2 separate regions of the Homo sapiens genome follow, and region 1 is linked to region 2. The links are contacts of gene promoters, found by promoter capture Hi-C in human tissues and cell types (Jung and others, 2019). All regions are on one chromosome and are shown on one strand. The core of a region is centred on a gene start or on the middle of the fragment in contact, and the rest is flanking DNA. Distances in the headings are between cores, read along the strand shown. Region 1 overlaps TRAF2 (TNF receptor associated factor 2). Region 2 holds the start of ABCA2 (ATP binding cassette subfamily A member 2).

Region 1 (6,604 bases), core at 2,895-5,394, 100 kb after region 2:
CACCATGCCCAGCTAATTTTTGTTTTTAATAGAGATGGGTTTTCACCATGTTGGCCAAGCTGGTCTCAAACTCCTGACCTAAGGTGATCCGCCTGCCTCGGCCTCCCAAAGTGCTGGGATTATAGGCATGAGCCACCAAACCCAGCCATTGAAAAACATCTTGATAAAATGTCTAGTCATGATAAAAAAAAAAAAAAAAAACCCTAGAAGCAAACTAGAAGTAGAAGGGAACTTGCTCAACCTGATAAAACAGCATCACCAAAAATCCCCGTGGGTAACATGATACATAATTGTGAAAGCAAGAAAGCTTTCCCCAAGAGTGGGAATGAGGAAAGGCTATAGACTCTTACCATTACTATTCAACCTTATAAACGGGAAGTCAGCCAATGGAACAAGGCAAGCAAAAGAAATAAAAGGCATAGAGATTGAATAAAAAGAAATAAAACTGTCCTTATTAATGGATGACATATTGTTCACACATAAAATCCCCCCAAATCTATAAAAACAAACAAAATCCTAATCTCCTACAACCAGTAAGTGAATTCATCAAGGTTATGAGGTATAAGAACAACACATAAAAATCAGTTTTGTTTTTAAACACTGGAAATATACAGTCAGAAACCAAAATTCAAAAAACAACCTCTTACAACAGCTCAAGAAACAAAGTAAGCTGTGGGATAGGAAGCAATAAATAAGTAAAAGAAACACTGAAGCATAAACCTACTAAAACATGTACAAGATATGTATACTGGCTGGGTGTGGTGACTTTTATGCCCATAATCCCAGCACTTTGGAAGGCAGAGGTGGGTGAATCACTTGAGTCCAGGACACCAGCCCAGGCAACATGGCAAAACCCTATCTCTACAAAAAATACAAAAATTAGCCGGGCGTGGTGGCACACACTTGTAGTCCCAGCTACTTAGGAGGCTGAGGTGGGAAGATCCATTGAGCCCAGGAGGTCAAAGCCACAGTGAGCTGCGATCATGCCACTGCATTCCAGCCAGTTCAACATACATATGAAATACTACAAAACGCTGATAAAGAATAGAGATAGACTATGTTCATGGATTGTCTGACTCAACACAGATGTCAATTCTCCCCAAACTGATGTGTAGACTTAACGCAATTCCAATCAAAATCCCAGAATTTTTTTGTAGTTGACTGTGAAATATATATGTACTGTCAAACAAACAAAAATAGGGAAAACAATTCTGAAAAACAACAACTGGCTGGGCGTGGTGGCTAATGCCTGTAATCCCATCACTTTGGGAAGCTGAGGCAGGCGGATCACTTGAGCCCAGGAGTTTCAGGCCAGCCTGGACAACAGAGAGACCCTGTCTCCGGCTGGGTGCAGTGGCTCATGCCTGTAATCCCAGCACTCTGGGAGGTCGAGGTAGGCAGATCTGAGGTCAGAAGATCGAGACCATACTGGCCAACATGGTGAAACCCCGACTCTACTAAAAATACAAAAAAATTACCTGGGTGTGGTGGCATGCACCTGTAATCCCAAATACTTGGAAGGCTGGGGCAGGAGAATCGCTTGAACCAAGGAGTCAGAGGTTGCAGTGAGCCAAGATGGGTCACTGTACTCCAGTCTGGTGACAGAGCGAGAGTCTGTCTCAAAAAAAAAAAAAAAAAAAAAAAAAAAAAAAAAACTCTATCTCTACTAAAAATTTAAAAAATTAACCGAGTGTGGTGGTGTGCCTGTGGTCCCAGCTACTTGGGATGCTTGAGGTGGGAAGACCTGCTTGAGCCTGAGGTCTCGAGGGTGCAGTGAGGTAGGATTTGTACCACTGCACTCCAGCCTAGGCAACAGAACGAGACTGTGACTGTCTTTAAAAAAAAAAAAAAAAAAAAAAAAAAAAAAAGGGCAGGGCAGGGCAAACGAAAAAAAAGAGAAAAGAAAACGAAAAGAAAAAAGGAAGGAGGGAGGGAGGAAAAAGGAAAAAAAGAAAAAGAGAAACAAGAATAAAGTTTGGCCAGGTACAGTGACACATGCCTATAATCCCAGCACTTTGGGAGTCCAAGACAGGACAGTGTGAGACCAGGAGTCTGAGACCACCCTGGGCAACATAGTGATATTCTGTCTCTACAAAAATTAAAGAAAATAAGCTGAGCACGATGGTGTGAACCTGTAGTCGCAGCTACTTGGGAGGCCTAGGTGGGAGGATCACTGGAGCTCAGGGGTTTGAGGCTGCAGTGAGGTAGGACTGCGCCATTGCGCTCCAGCCTGGGTGACAGAGCAAGACCCTATATCTTAAAAAGAAATTAAAAAAGAATGCTGACAACACAAAGTGCCCACAAGGATGTGGAGCAGCGGGAACTGTGGCTCATGCTGGCATTCCACAACAGGCTACAGCTATTCTGGAAAGTGCTTGGCAGTTTCTTTTGAATTTAAAAATACACTTACTGTGTGATCCAGCAGCCCCACTGCTAACTACCTTAATGAAATAAAAACTTGCTCAACAACCTGTACACAAATGTTTATAGCAGCTCTATTCAGACCTGCAAAACATTAGAAACAACCCAAACACCCTTCAACAGGTGACGAGACAAACTGATCCATCCATAGAGCACTACTCCAAAAAAAACAAAAAAAAAAGAGAGAAAACAAATGCTGATGCACGCATCCTGATCAGTCTCAGCGGCGTTCTGCAGATCTCGCTGCTCCCAGCCACGCATTGTAGGACTCCATTATGGGACCTTCTTGGAAAGACATAACTACAGTGGTGGAGGACAGGTGTGTGGCTGCCACGGGTCGGGGTGGTGACTATGGGGAAAGTGGAACAGTCTTCTGAGATGGCAGGGCTCGCCTGTCTCCCAGGTATGGTGCTTACCCACATCTGCACAGGTGTGAACATCCATGGAATTGAATGTTCCATGAACAAAACAAAAGAACAAATCAATTTTACTACGTGAAATTTAAAAATGTTATTAGGGGCCAGGTGCAACACCTGCAATCCCAGCACTTTGGGAGGCTGAGGTGGGCAGATCACCTGAGGTCAGCAGTTCGAGACCAGCCTGGCCAACATGGTAAAGCCCTGTCTCTACTAAAAATACAAAAATTAGCCAGGCGTGGTGGCTCACAGCTGTAATCCCAGCTACTCAGGAAGCTGAGGCAGGAGAATTGCTTGAACCTGGGAGGCGGAGGCTGCAGTGAGCCGAGATTGTGCCATTGTATTCCAGCCAGGAAGACAGAACGAGATTCCGTCTCAAAAAAAAAAAAAAAAAAAAAAAACACTTCCTGAGGGAGATGTAAGGTGACACAAAAGTTCGGCAATTCCTCCAAGAGCTGAACAAGCGGCCCAGCAGCTCTACTCCTCGGTATAAATATTCAAGAGAAATGAAAACAAATACACGTCCCCATAAAAACTTGTTCACAAATGTTCACAGCAGCATTTTCAGAGTAGCCAAAAAGTAGAAACCACCCAAATGTCCAGCAACGGATGAATGGATAAATAAGGTGTGGTGCATCCATACAAGAGATTATTCAGCCATTAGAAGGAATGAAACTCCAATGCATGCTGCAACACACAGGAACCATGAAAATATCTTGCTGAGTAAAAGCAAAGGCCACATTCACATGAATGTCCTGAGTAGGCAAATCTATAGAGACAGAAGGTAGGTTTATGGCTGGCTGTCAGGGGCTGAGCGGGAGGGAACAGTGACTGCTAAGGGAAGGTTTCTCTGCAGGGTGATGAAATGTCCCAAAATTAGGTAGTGACGATGGTACCTCTGTGGGTTTGCACAGAGCCTGTCACTTCCCCAGAAGGCCATGAGGCGGCTGGGCCAGGCCTGCCCACGGGGCTGCTCCAGAGCATTTTGTCCCTCAAGGGCCTTGGTCTGCTTCGTGGGAGCCTCTTGGTGTGGCAGCCAGTGCCTAGGGAATTGTTCCGAGTGCAGACCTCTGCCCCTTCTGCAGCCTGGAGCCCGATGCTGCTCTCACTGCGTGGGGGGTGCGGTCCTCAGCTCTTCCCCAGGTTCTCCAGACCTCCATCTCCACTGCAGGGAGGTGAGGGCCAGGAGGACCATCCGGCTGCTCTGGCAAAGGACCTCCAAGGTAGCTGCTCTGCCCCGTCTTTCAGTTGATCCACTTTTAGACTCTGCTCCATGCCAGGGCCTCCCGGTGTGGCCAGCTTCCCCCTCAGCCCTCTTCTGCTCAGCAGCCACCCACCAACCCACTTCCCACCTTCCAAAATGGGTTCAAATCCTTTGTGGGATGTTGGCTTCTTCCCCATCTTTGTCCCTGGGGGAGGATTTTTTTTTGGTCCATTCCTCTCATTTCACAGTTCCATTTCGTTTTAAGTGAGAAGAGATGACCTCAATCAATCTGTTTTAACAAACTGCAGTGACCCAGCAAAACCTGTCACATACAAACAAATCCCCAAATATAGAAGCCCAGTATGTTAAAGACAAAACTTCACAATCATTAGACGAAAACATGACAGTGGTTTCCAGCCTCAGGGAAGGTCAGGATGTTCTGAGTCGGTCGGAAATAGCACCATTCATAAAGGATAAGATCAGCTGATCATGTGTAAGGCTTAAGCTTCTGCACATCAGGAGCAACAGAAACGCAGTTCAAAGACACAACCGAGAATCCGTAATCAGGAATATCAGGAACTCCTACCAACCAGCAGAATAAGACCCAGACCAACAACCAGAAGAAAAATGAGAAAAAGACATCAACAGGCAATTCGCACGGGAGAGAATCCAAGGGAGAGGTAAGCGTGGTAAAGACGCCTGACTCCGCCGAGTCATCAGAGAAACGCACGTGACAGCGATGCCACTTCACTTCACACACAGCACGCTGCAGCATCTCAATTCCAACAACACGAAGCACGGGCAGGGATGGGAGGGATGGGAGTGATGGGAACCCTCCCCCTGGTGCTGGTGGAAGGACCGGATGCAGCCCCTCTGCAAAGCAAGCTGGCAACTGCTAAAAAGGGGAGGCCTAGAAACCACCAACCCTCCTTCCAGGTTGACAGGAGACCCACGAGAGCAGGTCTGGCTATCTCCAGTCACCAAACCCTGAAGACACGGGAAGAGACTGGAAGGTGCTCTCTAGGGAACTCACACACGGCAGTCAGAATCCACCATGTAGAGTGCCCAGCACAAGATGCATTAAAAGTAGCCAGGCTGAGTCAAAAGCCCAGCTACCTGCAGCTGACCCAGTGGATGGTTTCTGCATTTTTAATGCAATATTCTTATTTGTGAATACAGAAACGTACAGATGCAAAATTCTAAAGCCCAAAGAGAACCGGAACGCCTCAATTCCCGCCACGTGGCCTGGGGAGCTGAGGTGAGGCCGGGAAAGGGAACAGCAGGGCTCTGCAATGCTTGCTCTTTAGGCCCAGTACACACTCACGGAACACAGACAATGCCCGTCGGTCAGCTCCGTGCCTGAGTTATTTTCTGTACTTTTCTGTGGTCAACTTCTCAAACTACAGCAGTGCGTGAAGACGTCGAGAGGGGACAGCACTTTATCCTGGACCCCGATACAGATGCCCAGTAGGTCCCAGCACGGCTGCCCTGACACCGAGTGTGAAGCCGTGCCTACGCCTGCCTGCACTGTCCCAAAAACACACCACAGGGGCGGTGCAGCCAGGACCCTCGGTGTGGCCAGGACCCCCCGGGTGCAGCCAGGATGCTCGGTGGAGCCTGTGCACAGAAAGGCAGGACCAGGGCTGGCTCATCCTCATTCTGCTCTCACAGGAGTCCCTGGGGAGGCCCAGGAGAGGAGATGGACAGGGAAGAACATTCCAGAAGAGGGAACAAGGCTCGAGAAGAGGGAGCTTACATCAGGTGAGGAACAGAGAACACAGCCTGGCTAGCTAGAGAAGCAGGCAGGGGCTAGGCACCCCGTGGGGAGGGGTCTGTGAGAGGAGAGGCCAGGAGGACCCGCAGAGGGTCACCACTGCCAAGGCTGGAAGCCGCAGGCAACCTGGAATCAAATGGATGCCACTGACCACAGAGATTTGAATGGTTTAATAACTCTGTCTTCGTGAGCTGGATGGCAAGCTCTCACACTTTACCCGCAGGCTGTGCTGTGCACCTCCCACACAGTGGTCTGAGCAGAGGCGGCGTGGGACCAGACCCTCTCCCACAGCCAGCCTGGCCAAGGTGGCACAGACCAGAGCTCTGTGCAGACAAGCACCCAGGGGTCTAGGAATGCTCCCTTCTCTCCAGGGGCCAGAGGGGAGAACCAAGCTGCTCAGCCTTCCTTGCTCTGGCCAGCAGGAGGCCCTTCTCCTGGAGCAGCCCTCGTTTCTGCCTGTCATGCCCGAGGGACACAAGGCCATCCACTGTGCTCCTGCTACATGGGCACTGCTGGGATGTGCTCCCACTCTGAGTGTCCCCCACCCAGGGCCTCTCCCTTCACTGCACAGGACAGCAAGGGCAGCTTGTGCTGGGAAGCACCCGAAGACCCTCGGCCAATGCCACCACAGCCCTTGGCTAAGACCGTCTGCCAAGCCCCTCCGCAGTCTCTGAAATCTGAGGACTGGCTGGTGGCTCCTTCCCCCGTGACAGTGAACTTGGCTGCAGGCCGACACCCTCCCAAGCGCCCAAGCGCGGCCCCTGCCCACTTGTACAGTGAGACCCTGGC
Region 2 (6,982 bases), core at 2,419-4,918:
CTGAGTGGGGCATGTCGGTGTCCCTGAGCCCATGGGAGGGGAGGACGGGGGTGGCGCTGAGTGGGGCATGTGGGTGTCCCTGAGCCCATGGGAGGGGAGGACGGGGTTGGCGCTGAGTGGGGCGTGTGGATGTCCCTGAGCCCAAGTGACAGAGCCTCCCCTCCCTCGTGCTGCTGCAGGGCACGGCCCCACCCGGAGGCTGCGAGGCTTGGGGGTCCTGGCCGGGGTGGCTCTGCTCGCTGCCCTCTGGCTCCTGTGGCTGCTGGGGTCAGCCCCTCGGGGTACCCCGGCACCCCAGCCCACGATCACCATCCTTGTCTGGCACTGGCCCTTCACTGACCAGCCCCCAGAGCTGCCCAGCGACACCTGCACCCGCTACGGCATCGCCCGCTGCCACCTGAGTGCCAACCGAAGCCTGCTGGCCAGCGCCGACGCCGTGGTCTTCCACCACCGCGAGCTGCAGACCCGGCGGTCCCACCTGCCCCTGGCCCAGCGGCCGCGAGGGCAGCCCTGGGTGTGGGCCTCCATGGAGTCTCCTAGCCACACCCACGGCCTCAGCCACCTCCGAGGCATCTTCAACTGGGTGCTGAGCTACCGGCGCGACTCGGACATCTTTGTGCCCTATGGCCGCCTGGAGCCCCACTGGGGGCCCTCGCCACCGCTGCCAGCCAAGAGCAGGGTGGCCGCCTGGGTGGTCAGCAACTTCCAGGAGCGGCAGCTGCGTGCCAGGCTGTACCGGCAGCTGGCGCCTCATCTGCGGGTGGATGTCTTTGGCCGTGCCAATGGACGGCCACTGTGCGCCAGCTGCCTGGTGCCCACCGTGGCCCAGTACCGCTTCTACCTGTCCTTTGAGAACTCTCAGCACCGCGACTACATTACGGAGAAATTCTGGCGCAACGCACTGGTGGCTGGCACTGTGCCAGTGGTGCTGGGGCCCCCACGGGCCACCTATGAGGCCTTCGTGCCGGCTGACGCCTTCGTGCATGTGGATGACTTTGGCTCAGCCCGAGAGCTGGCGGCTTTCCTCACTGGCATGAATGAGAGCCGATACCAACGCTTCTTTGCCTGGCGTGACAGGCTCCGCGTGCGACTGTTCACCGACTGGCGGGAACGTTTCTGTGCCATCTGTGACCGCTACCCACACCTACCCCGCAGCCAAGTCTATGAGGACCTTGAGGGTTGGTTTCAGGCCTGAGATCCGCTGGCCGGGGGAGGTGGGTGTGGGTGGAAGGGCTGGGTGTCGAAATCAAACCACCAGGCATCCGGCCCTTACCGGCAAGCAGCGGGCTAACGGGAGGCTGGGCACAGAGGTCAGGAAGCAGGGGTGGGGGGTGCAGGTGGGCACTGGAGCATGCAGAGGAGGTGAGAGTGGGAGGGAGGTAACGGGTGCCTGCTGCGGCAGACGGGAGGGGAAAGGCTGCCGAGGACCCTCCCCACCCTGAACAAATCTTGGGTGGGTGAAGGCCTGGCTGGAAGAGGGTGAAAGGCAGGGCCCTTGGGGCTGGGGGGCACCCCAGCCTGAAGTTTGTGGGGGCCAAACCTGGGACCCCGAGCTTCCTCGGTAGCAGAGGCCCTGTGGTCCCCGAGACACAGGCACGGGTCCCTGCCACGTCCATAGTTCTGAGGTCCCTGTGTGTAGGCTGGGGCGGGGCCCAGGAGACCACGGGGAGCAAACCAGCTTGTTCTGGGCTCAGGGAGGGAGGGCGGTGGACAATAAACATCTGAGCAGTGCCTCGTGGGTCTGGCCAGTGTCTCATGGGTCACCTCCGTGCAGGGCCACAGAGCCTGCATCTGCCCTCCCCTGACATGTCGCCCCCACGGCCATGGGGCTGCTTGTTCCCCACGGGGGGTCCTGTCGCCTGACTTCTGGGCCTTTGCTCACCCTCCGCCTGAGAGCCCTCCCTGTGCCGGGCTGCCCACTGGCTACCCCAGTTCCTACAGCCTCCGCCAGACGGCCCCTTATCAGAGAGCCTTCTGTGTCCCCCAAAAGGCCAAGGCGATGAGCCCAGGAGTTCGAGACCAGCCTGGGCAGTGTAGTGAAATCTCATCTCTACCAAAAATACAAGAATTAGCAGGGCGTGGTGGCTCACGCTTGTGGTCTCAGCTACTTGGGATACTGAGGTGAGAGGATGGCTTGAGCCCAGGAGGTTGAAGCTTCAGTGAGCCGTGATCACACCACAGCACTCCAGCCTGGGCAACAGAATGAGACCCTGTCTCAAAACAAAAACCAAAACAGGCCAAGGTTGGGGAAGAGTAGGGAACGGACGTCAGAGGCCTGGCCAGGCTGAAATCGCCCATCTCCCAGGCCCGCAGGCTGGAGGGTGTCTGGGGTGACAGGGTCTGACCTGTGCCTTGTAGCTCCCTCTGGTGGCCAGTGCTGGGGAGGCACTGGGGATGCGGCTGCAGCCAGGGAGCCCCTGTAGTGGACGGTGGAGAGTGGGGCGAGGAGGAGAGAGGCCAACCCACGGGTGGTGCTGACCAGGGCCCCAACAGGCTAAGCCCCCGGGGCTGGGGCACAGGGCTTGTCCCTACCCCAGGTAGGGGTGGGCAGGTTGAGGGCAGGAAGCCCCCCTCACCCATGGCTGTGGCTTGTGGGAAAGACCTGCTGGTAGCTTCCTGCCCTGACCCAGCCCTGTGGACTGAGCAGAGAAAAGCAAGTGCCTTGAGGCTGCGGGCTGGGGTGGGAAGCTGATCCCTCACTCACTAGCCCAGGGTCACCTTCCTGCTGCAAAGGAGCTGGGAGGAGTGGGGAGCTGTGGCCTCGGAGGTCTTCATTCACTTGAGGATGCGCCTTCTATGTGCGCCCTGACACTGGACACCACACAGCGCTACTCCACCCCATTCACAGGGGGGAAACTGAGTCTGGGAAGCGCCGTCAGAGCCACCCATGGGGTCAGCCTGTCCTCTGTCGCTCTCTACAGGCCACGCGGAGGAACTGCCCCACCTCCCGGGGCGCCCCAGCAGGTGCCAAGCCACAGCCGCAGAACCGCCTGATCCCGAACTCCCTGTGCAGAGACCAGACTCGCCCGAATATGGGGAGAAAAACGAGCCGCGTGCAGCAGGGGCCGCCTCGGTCCCCTGCCTGCTCCGCTCACGGCGAGCGTTCCTGGGGCCTCGAGTTTCCCCCCTTCCGCTGGCTGCTCGGAATCGCGGGACGGACCCACCTGGCCGCCCTGCCTCCCTTCCAGGTGGGCACCACCTGGACTCCAAGTGCTGGTTTACAAAGCACACAGGAGACCCTTACGGGGGTGAGCTGGCCCCTCGCCAGCGTCCGCTCGGCGCGCCCCGGGGACAGTGAAGGCTTGGGGCGCCTCTGCAGAGTCGCCAGCGCGGTGGGCGCAGCCGGATGCCTCTGGGAGAAGAGCGCAGCGCCCGAGGGTCCCCCGGCCTACGAAGGCTAAGCCGGGGTCTCGGATTCGATGTGGGCGCGTCGCGTGACGCCCGGCGAGGGGCGGCCCGGAGGCTTCCCGGCGGCGGCGCGCGCAGGGTCTCGGGCCCGGGTCGGTCCCGGGCGCGGCGCGGGCGGCGGGCGCCTCCTGGCGGGCGCGGACGGAGCGCGGCGCCTTTAAGCGGGGGCGGGCGGGGCGCGGGCAGAGTCGCTGTCGCCGCGGCCGCCGGGGCGGAGCCAGCGCGGATCGGGTCCCGGACGCCCGAGCGCCCCGCCCCCGCGCGGGCGATGCCCAGCGGCGCGGCGGGCTGCGGGGCCCGGCGGGGCGCGCAGAGGAGCGGGCCGCGGCGCTGAGGCGGCGGAGCGTGGCCCCGCCATGGGCTTCCTGCACCAGCTGCAGCTGCTGCTCTGGAAGAACGTGACGCTCAAACGCCGGAGCCCGGTGAGCCCACCCCACGCGCCCGCCCTCAGCCCGAGGCCGCGCGCACCGCGGCCAGAGGCGCGCTCCCCGCGCGCACGTGCGGACGGCCGGGCGCGCGCAGACCCCGGCGGGCGCTGGGGGCGGCGCGGGCCCGAGCCCCCTCCCCGCCGGGCCCTGCCCTCGCCTGCCGGCGCTGCGGCCTCCGGGGAGGTGGCTCGGTCGTGTCCAGTCCGGTCCCGCGTCCGCTGACATCGCGGTGCTCGGCTGAGTCACGGCACCCGCGCCCTCTGCAGCGCGCTCGCTGGGGCCGCTGTGGGCGGGGGGCAAGCGGCGCTCAGGACTCTGGCTCGAGGGAGGCCCTGGTTCCCAGGACAGAAGGCAGGCCTGGGGGGCTCCATTCAGCTGCGAGGCTCCATGGTCCTTGGGCCCAGCCTCCCTGGGGTCCCGGAGGAGACCCTGTCCCTTCCCTCCGTCCACCCCTCCCCTGCCCTTGGGCCGCGGCCTGCCATAGAGGTTGGTCCCAGGCATCTCTCCGCCTCCCCTCCTGGCACATCCGTGACCCTTGCTCATGCTCTCGCCACTGGGAATGTCCTTGTGCCAGCCTTGGCCAGCCTGAATCTCTGCACCCATTTGTCCTTTGGGGTCAGTTCTCCCCGAGCCTGATCCACTCTGTTGCCTCCTGGTCCCCCCACCTGCTCTGGGGGCTGGGTCTACTGTTTGGAGCTGTGAACCCCGGCTTTCCCAGCACTGCCTGGGCAGCCAGTGGACCTGAGGGTGCAGGACACATGGCTGTCAGGGACAGAAGTCCTTCGTGGAGCGAGGGGCTTGGGGATATGGGTGTCCTGCCATACCCCCAGCTGGCCAGCTTGGCTCCAGCCTGGGAAGGGAAGGGACACCTCCCAGGCCACAGGCCTGGACCAGCTTAGGTTTCTGAAGGCCCTTGGGATTGTCCAGGCCAGGGCTCAGAGCAGGTGGGGGCCTAAGGCAGACATCCTCTTGCCCAGCCAGGGCCCGGGCGGGACCCCTTGGGCTGCACCAGTCCGTGCCTGTTTATCTTTCAACATGCACTGCAGGAAACCCAGGCTGCAGTCAGCTGGGGTGGCCATCATCACCATGGCTGGCAGAATTCCCCTGGGCACCTGGCCTTGGCGGGGAGCCTGGGTTAGGTACATGCCCTGGCCAGGCACCTGGAGCTGGCTGAGTGGGGTCCCATGGATCAGGCCTGCAGCCCCTGGCATTGAGTCACTGGGGACAGCAGAGCAGGGCCAAGGGAACAGGGATGTGGCATGTGGCATGCATTAGTATTAGTCCCCGGGGGTGGTTGTCAGGAAGGTCCCCACTGGGCTTGGGAGCAGAGGCTGGAATGGTGGCCCCTGTTCCAGTGGGGACAATGCTCAGGGAAGGGAGTGTGGCCTATGAGGGCAGCTGGCAAGCAGGTGGGAGGTGTGCACTGTCCTGACCGCAAGAGTGACTCCCAGCTGCTGGTTTGGGCTGCCCCCCAGGACCTTTTTGGGTCCCCACCCTACAGGGCTCCCAGAGGCCCACTGGGCCACAGTGGAGGTCCTTAGCCCATGGCTGGAGCAGGTGGGGAACTGTTTCCCCCAGGGAGGCTGAGTCCTTGCCAGGCTTGTGATGTGGGGCTGGGGCTGGCTGGACACTGGGCACACTCCTGCTGGGTCCCCACTTTCCTGGGAAGGATCTTGGACATCAGAGCTGGACTCTTGGGGCCAAGCTTGGATGACAGAGGTTTGCCCTGTGTGCCATGCGCCCTGCTGGGGCAGGGGTGCACCCTGGGCAGAGCTCCACCCTGGGCAGAGCTCAGGGTCTGGAGGGTGGGTGCCAAGGACCTCTGTGCTGCTAGCAGGCTCCTCCAAGCTCTTTGCCTCAGTTTCCCTGTCTGTGAGTGTGGCCTATCTCCTCTTAGTTAGCTGGACTTGGGTCTACCCTTGGGCTACAGGCTGCTCTTGGTGCAGGGACAGGGTCACTGTCATGAAGTCACTGGGATGGCAGATGGCAGCGCCACCCTCGGGTCTCACCTGTTCTCCCCCCGACACAGTAGGCGGGAGCTACAGGGAGGGGTCATGCCCAGAGAAGGCATCTAGGCCTCCAGGCGATGTGAAGGCACTGGGCTGGTCTCGAGGGACGGAGGTTGGGCCACCTGGAGGCACCTGTGTGGGGCACCCAGGGCGTGCTAGACCTGTGCTGCCGCCTGTAACCAGATGCTGCTGTGGCGCCCGCCGCCTGCCAGCCAGGACTCTCCTCCTCCTCCCAGTAGCTCGTGCGAGGCCGTTGCTATAGCAATGGGGGAGGCAGCCGGGCCTGTTGCTGCAGTTACAGTGCCCATAGCAGGCCGGGTGTGGGCGGGGCTGGCGCCCCGTGCTGTGACCCCTGCCTCTGACATTGCCTCACTCCTGCAGCCACCCTCGCCCTGGTGCCTGTTGGTGCCCACAGTGCCTTGGCGAACCCTGGGCTCCGTCCTGGCTCAGGGAGCGGGTGGAGGCTGGCACGGGCTGGGGCGGGCATGGGACACCCACAGCATGATGTTCCTGGCCACAAAGCCCTATTGTCCAAGCACAGTAAACACAGCAGCCGCCCCCACCCCAGGGACCGGGGACTCGGCCCGGGCCACACAGCACACTGGGGGCTCTGAAGGGTTTTGGGATGGGGATGAGGACAAAGGATGCCTCCGAGCTGGGTGCTCGCCCTCGGGCTAGGGAGGGCAGGGCCCCTCTGTCCTGTGGGTCTCAGAGAGGGCTGGTCTGCCGAGGGCTCTCTGGAGGGTAGCTGGCTCAAGCTCCTCCTCCTCCCTGAGCTGGGGGCTGGGACACAAGAACCGGTAAAGTCCTTGGTTTTCAGGTGAAGTGAGCAAAGCACCTCTTTCTCACTCCACGCAGGTCCCACTAGGGCTCACCTTGGTGCCCAGCCTGGGTTAGCAGGAGCCGACCTGGGGAAACTGAGCTCCAAGGCCCAAGACTGGCTGCCCCGGGTCAGGAGAGGGGACAGGGCAGAAAGAGGTGCCTTTGGGCCAGGTGTGGTGGCTCACGCCCAGGTGGGCGGATCACGAGGTCAGGAGATCGACACCATCCTGGCTAACACGGTGAAACCCCGTCTCTACTAAAAATACAAAAAATTAGCTGGGCATGGTGGCGGGCGCCTGTAGTCCCAGCTACTCG

Evidence for each region. Contacts are between HindIII fragments. The study calls those that stand out against the background at their distance.
Region 1: a contact is called between a fragment that was not itself captured here and the fragment with the promoter of ABCA2 in region 2, in 2 of the 25 tissues and cell types used here (dorsolateral prefrontal cortex and lymphoblastoid cells).

What each region holds. Positions count from the first base shown.
Region 1 is chr9:136,925,974-136,932,577 of GRCh38, reverse strand. TRAF2 (TNF receptor associated factor 2) reads right to left here. Exons shown (of 11, transcript NM_021138.4): 11 at 5,971-6,604. Among named protein-coding and RNA genes, the nearest start is that of FBXW5, 15 kb to the left of the region's middle. The HindIII fragment of the contact is 3,433 bases long and covers 2,428-5,860 here.
Region 2 is chr9:137,024,923-137,031,904 of GRCh38, reverse strand. It overlaps ABCA2 (ATP binding cassette subfamily A member 2), which reads left to right and starts at 3,668. Exons shown (of 49, transcript NM_001606.5): 1 at 3,668-3,830. The coding sequence starts at 3,765. LINC02908 (long intergenic non-protein coding RNA 2908) reads right to left here and starts at 4,441. Exons shown (of 3, transcript NR_171031.1): 1 at 3,994-4,441. It overlaps FUT7 (fucosyltransferase 7), which reads left to right. Exons shown (of 2, transcript NM_004479.4): 2 at 180-1,731. The coding sequence ends at 1,195. RefSeq lists an enhancer at 2,783-3,527 and a silencer at 3,411-3,590. The HindIII fragment of the contact is 11,656 bases long and covers 1-3,848 here.